2 separate regions of the Homo sapiens genome follow, and region 2 is linked to region 1. Evidence: promoter capture Hi-C in human tissues and cell types (Jung and others, 2019). All regions are on one chromosome and are shown on one strand. The core of a region is centred on a gene start or on the middle of the fragment in contact, and the rest is flanking DNA. Distances in the headings are between cores, read along the strand shown.

Region 1 (4,174 bases), core at 1,652-4,151:
ATTTACACCAGAGTACCTCGCATTATCCAGACTGCTATTCACATTCCTGACCAAGTTCACGGTCAACCTCCTGCACTGGCAGCCAAGAGGGCCTGCCTGGAGAGAGCTTCTCTTCTCCATGCCTGCAGGACTGTGACTCTCTACCTGACCTGGCCCTCTCTTAGCCTTCCTACCATAACAGGGCAAGGGAGGGGAATCAACCCAGGGGATATTCCCTTGTCAAGGTCATCCACGGAGCAAAGCACATCCCAGATTTGCATCTAGGAAACAATTTTGGGTAACAGACATATATATATATATTTTAGATATGTCAAAGGGGTAAAGCTCTTGAATTAAGATGGTTTCATCATTATCTATCTCATGAATCTCTACCTTCCCCAACGACTGTCCTTCCTCACAGATGCCTGAAGGGGCAGGCAGATAATTAGTGCTGGGGACCTCATTTGATAGTAGGGGAAACTGAGAGGTGAAAAGAGCTCCCTTCAGTTAGATAGCAACTCACCAGGAACTCCAGTTTCTCCCCTACTGCTTGGTATGGCCACCTCCTCCACCTCTTAGCCAGTCCTCCGACTTCTACATCTTAAAAATCTAGCTCAGGGGCCAGGCGCGGTGGCTCACACCTGTAATTCCAGCACTTTGGGAGGCTGAGGCGGGCGGATCACCTGAGGTCAGGAGTTCGAGACCAGCCTGACCAACATGGAGAAACCCCGTCTCTACTAAAAATACAAAAAAATTAGCCAGCTGTGGTGGCACGTGCCTGTAATCCCAGCTACTTGGGAGGCTGAGGCAGGAGAATCACTTGAACCTGGGAGGCGGAGGTTGTGGTGAGCTGAGATCGTTCCATTGCACTCCAGCCTGGGCAACAATAGCCAAACTCCATCTCAAAAAAAAAAAAAAAATCTAGCTCAGGTCTGACCCCGACTAAATGGACAATCTTCCATTGATTTCCCATCCCCTCAACCCCGGTTCAAGCCACCATCCACAGCATTTGGACTAGTCATTTGTACTTAAGTAACTGAGTTAGTATCATGAAATTTGGTCTTAGGATCAAAGCCACTCAAGGTTAGAGCTGGAGGGAACCTTGGAGATTAAGAGAAACTAAGGTTTGGAGAACCTACCTAAGGTTTCATAGCAAATATGTGACAAATCCAAGGCTTCAAGCCAAGTTTTCCAATGTGTCCCTCGTGCTTTCCTGACTACATCTGGAGTTTCTCTATTTCTTCTTCTCCTTCTCCTTCTTCTTCATTTTTTTTTTTTTTCGTGTGTGTGTCTTTTTTCCCCTATGTGATGCTTCCTTTCTGCCCTGTGACCCTCTCCCTCTGTCCTGTCTTATTAGAAAGAGGCTCTAGAGCTGGCTGCATAGTACCTGTTCTCTGGGACCTTGGTGTTGATCTAAGACTGGTTTAACTACCTAAAGAGAAGCAGAGACCCGAGGGGGCCTGCCATAACCCAACTCTGAAACATGACTTAATCCCAAGTAAGATCAGCTCTAACATTTGTTCAGAAGCAAAAATGATGGATTCTAAAGTTTGACTTCCCCAAGGTCATCTGGCTAAGAGGTGGCTGCAGCAGGGGGCAACAATAGGTCTTCAGGCCCCTGGGGCGGCAACCTGGCACTGCCCAAGAGCCCGCAGGCTCTGAAGGCCAACTGAGCCAGCGGCAAGCCTAGTCCCTGCCTCCCTGCTTGGAGCAGTGCGACTATACCGTTTTCTGTCTGCTCATTTGTGAGCTTGGTTCCCGTCCTAAATGTGGGGGTTCAAGGCAGACAAAGAGTGTGCAGTTGGCCACCCCGCTCGCCTTCAGGAAGTGTGTAGGACACCGTCGAGGCCCCCTAGCCATTGTAAACCAGGCGCTGAGGCTCGTGCCCAGTTGTACCCTTCCCGCGCAGCGCTCAGGAGCGACAAACCTGGAGGCTATTCGGTCTGCCACTGGGCTGTGCCGGGATTCGCGGACTTTCTCCTGAATAGCGCTCTCAGCTCGCGTCTTCCCCCTGCCACTCTCCCACGCCCCCAGAGTACCCACCGACCCCAGCAGGCCGGGTACATCCCTGCCGCGCCCATCCGGCCAGTGGCTCCAGGGGCCGGCCTGGTGTGTCTCCAGCTGGGCGCCTACCGCCTGCCCCAGCGCTAGTTCTGGCGTTGGGGGTAGAGAGGTAAAGAGGGGAGTTAGCGGGGCATCTCCCTCCCAGGGCTGAGCCGGCAAGCGCATCTTCTCCGCGAGTTCCTCACTGTCCAGCGAGCGCTGCCCAACTTCTGCGCCGGTGGGACCCGCTGCTCTGAGTCACTCTTGGCACAGAACACCAAGCACCCTCAGAAACCGAATTCACCACCTTTGGGAGGCTCCTGGGAGAAGGCAAGGAACCCAGGCGGGGCTCCCAGGGCTCTCGGGCTGGGACTGGGTTGTGTGTGTGTGGGGGGGCTTCACGGATACCCCTCCCAACCTGCTTCCTTTCCCTGACAGCAGCCATCTCCCCCAAGAGGGAGAGTCTTAGGCGTCCCGGAAGACCCTGCGGACTGTGCACCTCGAGGTACCAGCCTCTCCTGGGAGGAGTGGGGGGCCGCTGGTCAGCGGCTGGCAGAGGGGACCTGTTTGCTGGCCCGTTTGGAGGTGGGATGGAGTGGGGTTTGGAGACTGAGAAGCCCAAGAGAAGACACTGAGTTTCTCCCCACCCCACAACCCCACTTCCGAAAAAGAACCAGGTGGTGAGGAGGAATAAGGCGAAGTGTAAACACAAACAACCTCAAAAAGAAGCCAAGAAAAGCGAAGCCCAAAGAAGCAAGAGCAACACTGTTACAAAACTGTCTGGTTTTGTAACAATTTCCCCGCCGCCGGCCAATGAACAGCGTGGCGGCACGTCACGTGGTACCGTTTTATATAACACTTTGCTGAGACAAGACAGTTATTAGGCGGCGCGGGGCGGCCGGCATGGAGCTCCCGGAGGCGCGGCAGGGTCAGGAGCTCGGTGGCATGGCGGCGGTGGCTGCCCCGATTTCCTCCAGCTGCCACTCCTTGCTTCGTGTCCCCGGTCCCTAGACGCCTCGTCTCCTCCCGTGTCCCTCTTCCCATGGAGTCAGTACGGATCGAACAGATGCTGAGCTTGCCCGCTGAGGTCAGCAGCGACAACTTGGAGTCGGCGGAGCGAGGGGCATCAGCGGCCCAAGTAGACATGGGCCCCCACCCAAAGGTGGCTGCAGAGGGCCCCGCACCTCTACCGACGCGGGAGCCAGAGCAAGAGCAGTCTCCGGGGACCTCAACGCCGGAGAGCAAAGTCCTGCTCACGCAGGCAGACGCCTTGGCGTCCCGGGGGCGAATCCGTGAAGCCCTCGAGGTGTATAGACAGCTCTCCGAGCGGCAGCAGCTGGTGGCTGAGCAGCTGGAGCAGCTGGTGCGCTGCCTGGCGGAGAAAGTCCCGCAAGGCGAGGCGCTGGCGCCGGCGCCCCCGGACGAGGGTAGCACTGCAAGCGGCACCGTGGCGGCGGAAGAGACGGGGGCCGCCGCGGCTGCGGCGGCCACCGAGGTGTGGGACGGCTTTAAGTGCCGGAAATGTCATGGGTTTCTATCAGACCCCGTGTCCTTGTCGTGTGGCCACACCTTTTGTAAACTGTGCCTGGAACGTGGGCGGGCCGCCGACCGGCGCTGTGCGCTGTGCGGGGTCAAGCTCTCCGCCTTGATGGTGGCCACTGGGCGGGCGCGTGGAGCCCGGCGGGCTGGGCAGCAGCCGCCGCCGCCGCTGCGAGTCAACGTGGTGCTCAGCGGCCTCCTCGGCAAGTTGTTTCCAGGCCCAGCGCGAGCGTCGCAACTCCGGCACGAGGGCAACCGACTGTACCGCGAGCGCCAGGTGGAGGCGGCACTGCTCAAGTACAACGAGGCAGTTAAGTTGGGTGAGTCCAACGCGCTGCCGGGCCGGGGCTGGGGCTCGGTGGCTACATGAGGGAGCGGGAGAACAAACCCCGCAGCGAGAAGGGATTTGGACCAGGGCAGAAGAGGGGGCGGGGGACCCATGGACTGTGGCGGGGTGGGGGAGGGGTGATTCTGGGGCTGGGTCTCTGAGTTTGTTCTGTTTTCACTGCTTATCTGTGTTTCACTGTGTTTGTGTTGATCTCGGTTGCTTTTTGTCTTTTCCTGCTACTTCTGTTAGCTTTTGTGTTCCTGTCTCTCAGTCCCCGTTCCTGTC
Region 2 (4,508 bases), core at 410-2,909, 42 kb before region 1:
TATCAGTAATTAATTTCTGTTCTTTGTAAATTACCCAGTCTCAGGTATTCTGTTATAACGGCACAAAACAGACTAAGGCAATGCTGAATATAAGAGGTGAGAACAAACATCCCTGACTTGTTACTGATTTTATAAGGAAGGCACCCAGTCTTTCACCATTAAGTTTGTTAGGTATAGGATTTTCATAGATGTGCTTTAATAGGTTGAGGATCTTTACTTCTACTCCTATATTGCTGAGAATTGTTATCAGCCATAGATATTGGTTTTGTCAAATGATTTTTCTGCATCTATTGAGATGAGCCCATGGCTTTTCTTTGTTAATTTATTAACATGGTCAATTATATTGATTGATTTTCAAATGTAAACCAACCTTGCATTCCTGATATAAACCACACTTACACATGATGTATTATTTTTTTTTTAATTTTTAATTTTTGTGGGTACATAGTAGGTGTATGTATTTATGAGGTACATGAGATGTTTTGATATAGTCATGCAATGTGAAATAAGCACACCATGAAGAATGGGGTATCCATCCCCTCAAGCATTTATCCATTGAGTTGCAAACAATTCAATTACACTCTTTAAGTTATTTTAAAATGTACAGTTATTATTGACTATAGTCACCCTGTTGTGCTATCAAATAGTAGGTCTTAGTTATTCTGTCTACTGTTTTTTTTTGGACCCATTATATTTTTTATATTCTTATATTGCTAGATTCAGTTTGCTAATATTTTGTTTAGAGTTTTTTGTTTCTATGTTCACTAGGGGATATTGGTTTGTAGTTTTATCTGTCTTGCTTCGGTATCATGGTAATGCTGTCCTCATAGAATGAGTTAGGAAATATTCCTTCCTTTCAATTTCCTGGAAGAGTTTGGGTAAAATTGATGTTATTTCAAACCTTAAGTTTTTGGTAGCGATAACTAGTGTAAACATCCAGGTCTGGAGTTACTAAACTGGAGTTTACTAGTGAGAAGCTTTTTAACTACAAATTATATTTCTATGATAGGTTTAGGGGTATTCATTTTTGTGTGTTTGTATGTGTGTGTATGTATCTCTATACATACAGATAGATAGATAGGTAGATAGCTAGATAGAGATATAATCTCCTTTAATGAGCTTTAGTAGTTTATATCTTTCAAGCAATTAGCCCATCCCATCTAAGTCCTCAAATTTATTGCTATAAATGTGTTTATAATATTCCCTTATTAACCTATTTAGTATTTGTAGAATCTGTGTTAATAGTTTTTTTTTTTTTTTTTTTGAGATGGAGTCTTGCACTGTCGCCCAGGCTGGAGTGCAGTGGCGCAATCTCGGCTCACTACAAGCTCCGCCTCCTGGGTTCACGCCATTCTCCTGCCTCAGCCTCCCGAGTAGCTGGGACTACAGGCGCCCACCAGCACGCCTGGCTAATTTTTTGTATTTTTAGTAGAGACGGGGTTTCACCGTGTTGGCCAGGATGGTCTCGATCTCCTGACCTCGTGATCCGCCCACCTCGGCCTCCCAAAGTGCTGGGATTACAGGCATGAGCCACCGTGCCCAGCCCTGTGTTAATATTTTTATCTCATTTATGACATTGGTAATTTGTGTCTTCTCTTTGTCCTGATCCACATAGCCAGAGTTTTATCAATTTTGCTTATTATCCAAGAGAACCAGCTTTTGGTTTCATTAAATTTCTCTAATGATTTTCTGTTTTCTATTTTATTGATTTCTACTTCTTAGTTTTTGCTTAATTTGATCTACTTTTTCAATTTATTAATGTGGAAATGATGTCAATGATCTGAAATCTTTTTTCTTTTCTTACATATGAATATAGTGCTATAAATTTTCCACTATATAGTGCTTTATGGTATCTCATATTTTGATATATTGTATTTCCATTTTCATTCAGTTAAATATGCCTTCCAATTCCACTTTTGATTTTTTCTTGAATTCATGTTTTACTTATAAGTATGCCGTTTAACTTCCACATATTTGAGTATTTTCCAGCTTTCTGTTTTTAGAATATTATTTAATTCCATTGAAATCAGAATACATACTTTGTATGACTTGAATACACGTTTTGCTTTGTGTATTTTGAAGATTTGTCAAGTACACAAACATTTAGGACAGTTATGTACTATTGATGAATTGACCCCTTTATTATTATCATCCTACCGTGATATTTGCTGCTTTGAAATCTACTTGTTTGTCACTAATATAGCCATCTGTCTTTCCTGCATCTGGTGTTAGCATTAATTAACTAGATCTATTAGTTTCTCATGGCTACTATAACAAATTACTGAAATGTTGATGGCTTAAAAAACATTTATTCTCCCACGGTTCCGGAGGTGAGAAGTCTGAAATCAAGGTATAGGTAAGACCACACTTCCATCATAGAGTCTGAGGGAGAATATATTCTTTGCCTCTTCCAGTTTCTGCTGTCTGTCAGTATTCGCTGGCTTGTGGCTACAGCTCTATCTCTTTCTCTGCTCCGTGTTCATATTGCCTTCTCCTCTGTGTTAGTGTAGCTAAATTAGCTCTCTTTCTCTCCTATAAGGATACATGTGATTGCATTTAGGGCCTACCTGGACAAGCTCCTCGCAAAAGCCTTAAGTTAATCACATATTTTGCCACGTAAGGTAATATTTACAGGTTCTGGGGATTAGAACATAGACATATCTTTGGGGCCACCACTGAGTCCACTACACATGGTATATCTTTCTCCATCACTTTATTTTTCACTGGTTTGTGTATTTAAAGTGTGTTTGTTGTGAACAGCATACACTTAGGTCTTGCTTTTTTGCTTTTTTATTATCCAGTCTGATGGTCTTTTTCTTTTTTTTGAGACAGGGTCTTGTTCTGTCCCTCAGGTTGTAGTGCAGTGGCCTGATCATGGCTCACTGTAGCCTCAACCTCCTGGGTTCAAGCTACACAAACACACACACACACACACACACACACACACACACACACATATATTATTGTAGTCTCCCTTTGAGTTATATTATATCATTTCACAAATAATATAAGAAGAGCCTTCCAATAGTATACCTACATTTCCTCTCTCCTGGCCTTTATGCTGTTGTTTGCATATATTTTACTTACACATAAATTATAAAGCCCACAATGCATTGTTACTATTTTTGCTTAGTCAATTATCTTTTAAAGATATTTATGAAATAAGAAAAATATCATATATATTTATTCATGAAGTTTCTGTTTCCAGTGTTCTTTATTGCTTTACTATAGATCCATATTTTCATCTGGGGTCATTTCTTCTGCTGCTCTTCTTCCTGGTCTTTCAGGCCAGGCATGGTGGCTCATGCCTGTAATCCCAGCACTTTGGGAGGCCCACGTGGGTGGATCACCTGAGGTCAGGAGTTCAAGACCAGCCTGGCCTACATGGTGAAACCCCGTCTCTACTAAAAATAAAAAAATTAGCTGGGCGTGGTGGCAGTTGCCTGTAATCCCAGCTACTTGGGAGGCTGAGGCAGGAGAATTGCTTGAACCCAGGAAGCAAAGGTTGCAGCAAGCTGACATTGCACCATTGCATTCCAGCCTGGGCAACAAGAGTGAAACTCCATCTCAAAAAAAAAAAAAAAAAAAGGATGTCTTTCAGCATTTACTACAATTCAGGTCTGTTGGTGATGACTTTTTAAACCTTTTGTATGCTTAAAAAGTCTTTATTTTGGCCAGGCACAGTGGCTCACGCCTGTAATCCCAGCACTTTGGGAGGCCGAGGGGGGCAGATCACGAGGTCAGGAGATTGAGTCCATCCTGGCTAACGTGGTGAAACCCCGTCTCTACCAAAAATACAAAAAATTAGCCAGGCGTGGTGGCGGGCGCCTGTATCCCAGCTTCTCGGGAGGCTGAGGCAGGAGAATGGCGTGAACCTGGGAGGCGGAGCTTGCAGTGAGCCGAGATGGTGCCACTGCACTCCAGCCTGGGTGACAGAGCAAGACTCTGTCTCAAAAAAAAAAAAAAGTCTTTATTTTGGGATGGGCGCAGTGGCTCACGCCTGTAATCCCAACACTTTGTGAGGCCAAGGCGGGTGGATCACGAGGTCAGGAGTTAGAGACCAGCCTGGCCAATATGGTGAAACTCTGTCTCTACTAAAAATACAAAATTAGGCGGGCGTGGTGACATGCACCTGTAGTCCCAGCTACTCGCGAGGCTGAAGCAGAAGAATCACTTGAATCCGGGAGGCGGAGGTTGCAGTGAGCCTAGATCATGCCAGTGTACTCCAGCCTAGGCAACAGAGACTCTGTCTCAAAAAAAAAAAAAAAAAGAAAAAGAAAGAAAGAAAAAAAGTCTTTATTTCACCCTTTAAAAAAATTTACATTGTGGCAAACTACACATAACACAAAATTTATCATCTTAATAATTTTCAAATGTATAGTTCAGTGGCATTAACCACATTCACATTGTTGTGCAGCCATCATTATCAGTTATCTCCAGAACTACTCTTATTTTGCAAAACTAGAATTCTATATCCATTAAACAGCAGCCCCCCATTATCCTCTACT

The links. Contacts are between HindIII fragments. The study calls those that stand out against the background at their distance.
Region 2: a fragment that was not itself captured here is called in contact with the fragment with the promoter of LONRF3 in region 1 in 2 of the 25 tissues and cell types used here (aorta and ovary).

Annotation. Positions count from the first base shown.
Region 1 is chrX:118,971,717-118,975,890 of GRCh38, forward strand. LONRF3 (LON peptidase N-terminal domain and ring finger 3) reads left to right here and starts at 2,902. Exons shown (of 11, transcript NM_001031855.3): 1 at 2,902-3,881. The coding sequence starts at 3,065. The HindIII fragment of the contact is 6,747 bases long and covers 1-4,174 here.
Region 2 is chrX:118,930,867-118,935,374 of GRCh38, forward strand. No RefSeq gene overlaps it. Among named protein-coding and RNA genes, the nearest start is that of LONRF3, 41 kb to the right of the region's middle. The HindIII fragment of the contact is 7,100 bases long and covers 1-4,508 here.